2 separate regions of the Homo sapiens genome follow, and region 2 is linked to region 1. Evidence: promoter capture Hi-C in 16 types of primary human blood cells and fetal thymus (Javierre and others, 2016). All regions are on one chromosome and are shown on one strand. Each heading gives the region's core, a stretch centred on a gene start or on the middle of the fragment in contact. The rest is flanking DNA. Distances are from core to core; before and after follow the strand shown. Region 1 holds the start of ZSCAN5C (zinc finger and SCAN domain containing 5C). Region 2 holds the start of NLRP13 (NLR family pyrin domain containing 13).

Region 1 (2,700 bases), core at 10-2,509:
TCAAGAGAGCAATTGTCCAACATGGTGACTTCAGTTCATAACAATGTATTGTATAATTGGAAATTGCTTAAAGAGTAGACTTTAAGCATCCTCATGACCAAAAATGATTAGTCCATAAAGTAAGGCATGTGAATATCAGCTCAATTTACCCATTTTACATTGTTTCTATCCTGCAAAGCACATTATGCTGTACACCATAAATACGTATCTTTCTTGTTTTTCAATTTAAAAGTAAATTTTTTTTTTTGAAAAAGCATATGGATATGAGAGAGAAAAGGCAGCCTGAAATTCTGGAATTAAAAATGATTTTGCCACAGGGCACCTGCTGCTGCTCAGGAGGCTGAGGAGGGAGGATCCCTCGAGCCCAGGAGTTTGACAACCACCTGGGCAACATAGTGAGAGCCTGTCTCTAAAAAAAGGGGTTCATGTTCCTAGAAACCACTTTGTATTCGCTGTCAGTTCATTTCCCATTAAAACAAGCAATGGGACATGGGAAAAAATAAAGGCAGGTACGCGGGTTAGTATTCAATTCTGGGAGTATACAGCACACAGGACCCCCAGGTAGGGACACTTAGTGCAGATTCTCATTGGCCTAGTAGGTTGATGCCCATTCATCAATGGCTGATTTTACCCTGTGGAAAGGGAGAATCCAGCGATGCTTTTTAACAAGTGGTGTGTGGCCAGCAAGGTGGCTCACACCTGTAATTCCAACAGTTTGGAAGACCAAGATGGGAGCATGCTTGATCCCAGGAGTTCAGGACCAGCCTGGGCAATGTACTGAGACCCCATCTGTACAAAAAAAATTAAACATTTATTCAGGCATGGTGGCAAGTGCCTGTAGTTCCTGCTACTTGGGAAGCAGAGGCAGGCGGATCGTTTGAGTCCGGGAATTCCAGTCTAGTCTGGGCAATGAGAGAGATCTCATCTCTAAAAAATAAAATGTAGCCTAACCACGATGAGAAAGTTAATATTATTCCTATTTTAAGGGAGAGTTATATAACAAGTCAGAATAAATAATAGGGTGCAAAGCAGACCCACTGCCTTCACAAGGTGTCCGGGCAAATGCATGAAAAAATAAACCCAAATCTTTCTGAAACCAACACCCCAACCCAAATCTTTCTGAAACCAACCCCTCAATCCAAATCTTTCTGAAACCAACCCCTGCAGGCCAACTCCAAAACCCCACAGACATCCCCAGTGGACACTTACCTCCTTCCTGACTTCTGCCTCCAGCCTCCTCTCTTCTAGGATGTGCTCTCCAACTGCTCTGGAGCTGAACTGTCTATTTATAGAGAACCCCCGGGACTCCAGGCCTCTCTTCCAGTCCCCTGGGCCCCCACATGATTGGTTTAGGGCCATAGAATCCATTGAAGGTGATTAGCATTGATTACATTTCTCAATGAAACCCCACCCACAGGAAATTAATGTATTAAACATGCCTACCATGCAAATAACATAGGTTTTCCCGCTCTACTGAATTACATTTCATATTTCTGAAGTATTTGGAGGCTTCAGGGACTATAGATCTGCAAGTTTTAACCACTTTGCGTCCCCTCATGGCACAGACAGTAATATCCTAATGAGTAAAGGACATGTTAAGAGTTGGTTGAATAATATCAAACCAGTGATTTGCTCTAGTTTAAGGAAAGCTTTCACATGTGAATGTCAAGATATTGAAAAAAAAAGGGACAGTCATTGTTGATACATAATGAGTAGTAGTGATAATTTTTCACTTTTCAAAATCTGGGAATTGACATGGGAAAGCTGTGCTTGAACTAGGCTAAATCACTGCTTTGATATCAGCCAACCTACTCTTAGGTAAAAACAGTGGGAACCAGAGGAAGGCACATGGTCCCCACTCTGCATTCACTTTAGGATGATGGGAGGTGGTTTATAGACATACTGAGTGCTCCCTAGTTCTCAACCCCCTCAGTTAGGCCTCTCAAGCAAGAAAAGCCTTAATGGTGGTATGAATTTTACTGTGTGGATCATGGAGACCATGTGGAATGACAATTAAGTGCACTTTATACTGATTCTGGTTTCAATCCTTAGGAAATCTTAACCCACTGAATTCTGGAAACTTCAAACTCCCTGTGACTAGAACCAGGGAATTATTACCTTCCTGACATGTTGTTTTGAAGATTAAATAAGATTATGTTGGCCGGAAGTGGTGGCTCCCGCCTATAATCCCAGCACTTTGGGAGGCTGAGGCGGGTGGATCACAAGGTCAGGAGTTTGAGACCAGCCTGACCAACATGGAGAAACCCCATCTCTACTAAAAATACAAAATTAGCCAGGCGTGGTGGCGCATGCCTGTAATCCCAGTTACTCGGGAGGCTCAGGCAGGAGAATCACTTGAACCCGGGAGGCGGAGGTTACAGTGAGCTGAGATCATGCCATTGCACTCCAGCCTGGACAACAAGAGCAAAACTCCATCTCAAAAAGCAAACAAACAAAAAACCAGATTATGTCAGTAAAGTGCCCGATACAAGGTCATTTTGCCAAAAAGTTCTGACACTTATTTTCTGATGCATTTTCTCATACTCTGTGATGTTTTTCCTTGTTAAGAATTGAGGTATTGATAGTGAGTCAGAGTTCAGATGGAGTTATTAAGTGGAATGAACTAGAATCTGCCTAAAACCACCATCTACCTACCCAATTCCCTCCAATCCTCTCCTCTTGAAACATGTCATGTTCTCA
Region 2 (2,700 bases), core at 133-2,632, 270 kb after region 1:
AATGATAGCTTAATGTCATTTGATTCTCAAATAAGCTTTTCCCCTAGTCTTTATCCTCCCTGCTTATACCTGAAAGGGCTTTTCTTCATGATGTTTCAAGTTTTCCTCTGTGTGTCTTTCCCCATCTTTTCTCCAACAATTTCTGGAGTAGTCCAATGAATTTGGGCTGCCAGGGTAGGTCCTAACATACATCTCTTCTGGAGATTTCTCTTTGGGAGACATTCGGGGGTCACACACCAGTAGCTTCAAGCATAGTGTTTTGGGCCAGGCATGGTGGCTCATGCCTGTAATCCCAGCATTTTGGGAGGCCAAGGCCAGTATGCACCTGTAGTCCCAGCTACTCGGACGCTGAGGCAAGAGAATCACTTGAACCTGGGAGGCAAAGACTCCAGTGAGCCGAGATCCAGCCATTGCACTCCAGCCTGGGCAACGAGAGCGAAACTCCATCACAAAAAAAAAAGTCTTTTGTTCTGCTGTCTATCTGTTGCCTTCAATACTACCTGGTATTTTGACATGACCCAGCATACATGCCGGACCAGGTTCTATGGGGGAATAGTGGCAGATCTGTCTCAATCACCATTAGCTGCCTGGTGGCCAAAATCGTGATGGGCGGAAACTTCTATTTTCTCTCTTTGTTACCCCTTCTCCCTGATTAGTTTCCCCCGTTCCCATCTCTCAAATGTCTTTGATCTTTACTGTGACTAATTAACTTCAATGTTCTTCTTATTCACATTTCAGGTGAACCCTCTGAATGTGAGTTGGTAAGTACCATCATGCACCTGTAACTTTTCTAGGACAGCTGTCACTGTTAGTAAGGCAGATAAATCAGGTGCTGATGGCATTGTTCCTTCTGGGATGGGATGAAAGCCAGTGATCTCGAGTCTAGGTAAGGTTGCTAGAGAAAATACCCAGTTGAGGCCGGGCCCGGTGGCTCACGCCTGTAATCCCAACACTTTGGGAGGCCGAGGCGGGCGGATCACAAGGTCAGGAGATCGAGACCATCCTGGCTAACACGGTGAAACCCCATCTGTACTAAAAATACAAAAAAAACTAGCTGGGCGTGGTGGCGGGCACCTGTAGTCCCAGCTACTCAAGAGGCTGAGGCAGGAGAATGGCGTGAACCCGGGAGGCGGAGCTTGCAGTGAGCCGAGATCGCACCATTGCACTTCAGCTTGGGGGACAGAGCGAGACTCCATCTCAAAAAACAAAACAACAACAAAAAAGTGTACTAACACAAGTAGCAGGAAGTACTGTGAAGCGAAAATACTCAAATGTGTAGGCAAGACAGTGAGAGGAGGTGATATTTATGGCTTATGATTTCAACTCTCTCCTTTTCTGCAGGTCACAAGTGTCCTGTGGATATAGGAGTCCTTTGCTGAAGTGAGAAACTGCATGTGTTGGGCAAGATGAACTTTTCTGTAATCACCTGCCCCAACGGTGGTACCAACCAAGGGCTTCTGCCTTACCTGATGGCCCTGGATCAGTATCAGCTGGAGGAATTCAAGCTTTGCTTGGAACCCCAGCAGCTGATGGACTTCTGGTCGGCCCCCCAGGGGCACTTCCCGCGTATCCCCTGGGCAAACTTGAGAGCTGCCGACCCTTTGAATCTGTCCTTTCTTTTGGATGAACACTTCCCAAAAGGTCAGGCATGGAAAGTGGTCCTCGGCATCTTCCAGACAATGAATCTGACCTCACTGTGTGAGAAAGTTAGAGCCGAGATGAAAGGTGAGAGTCCTCAAGAAGGAAGGCGGGAGGGCTGCTTGGTACTCCTGAGGCAAGGAGGTAGCCGCTGGGTTTTTGTGGGGTCATTCCACACTGCCGATCTCCCCCTACAAATCCTCCTTGATAATCTATGACAGTATGATGTTTAAAGGCATAAAGGCTATAAAGATTTAGTGCTCTAGCCTGGGAAGGAGTAGCAAAGGCAAGAAAGGGAATCGGAAGAGGCACATTCAGTTATGTTATAAGCCTTTTTCTTTCTTTCTTTCTTTCTTTTTTTTTTTTTTTTGAGCCTGAGTCTCCACTCTGTCGCCCAGGCTGGAGTGCAGTGGTGCGATCTGAGGTCACTGTAACCTCTGCCTCCCAGGTTGAAGCGATTCTCCTGCCTCAGCCTCCCAAGTAGCTGGGACTACAGGCGCCCGCCACCACACCCGGCTAATTTTTTTGTATTTTTAGTAGAGACGGGGTTTCACTGTGTTAGCCAGGATGGTCTCAATCTCCTGACCTCGTGATCTGCTCGCCTCGACCTCCCAAAGCACTGGGATTACAGGCGTGAGCCACCGCGCCCAGCCCAGGCTTCTTTTAAACATGCAAATTTGTCCCAGTGTGATTGTCGTACTGGGAACAATTTGAGTGCAGCACAGATTTCATGTTAGCTTATGCATGGTTTTGCCCAAGAGAAACACTAAGAAACCACAACAACCCCCGCCCTGCCCCCGCAACCCACCGACCCTGCACTCAGCCGAGCAGAGCCATGTAGGATTGTACACAATGCACACAGGCATGTACCTCAAACATCTACCCGCTTCCTCAGTACGAGCCTTGCCCATTCTACACTTTCTGTCTGATTTCAGATCATTGTTCTTTCACTTCACAAAAACTCACAAGCTGCGACACTTCCCATATTCACAAGCAAAGTTCATGTTTTACTCAGGGTAAAGTTTCATGCCACATCTTCTGTGGCATTGCAAGACCTGCTGA

Evidence for each region. Contacts are between HindIII fragments. The CHiCAGO score rates a contact against its expected background, and 5 or more counts as called.
Region 2: a contact is called between the fragment with the promoter of NLRP13 here and the fragment with the promoter of ZSCAN5C in region 1, in 4 of 17 cell types (total B cells, naive CD8 T cells, activated CD4 T cells and 1 more). The highest score is 6.4, in total B cells.

The regions. Positions count from the first base shown.
Region 1 is chr19:56,200,832-56,203,531 of GRCh38, reverse strand. It overlaps ZSCAN5C (zinc finger and SCAN domain containing 5C), which reads right to left and starts at 1,259. Exons shown (of 5, transcript NM_001358413.3): 1 at 1,210-1,259. The HindIII fragment of the contact is 5,550 bases long and covers 1-1,651 here.
Region 2 is chr19:55,931,018-55,933,717 of GRCh38, reverse strand. NLRP13 (NLR family pyrin domain containing 13) reads left to right here and starts at 1,382. Exons shown (of 11, transcript NM_176810.2): 1 at 1,382-1,725. The coding sequence starts at 1,407. The HindIII fragment of the contact is 1,470 bases long and covers 38-1,507 here.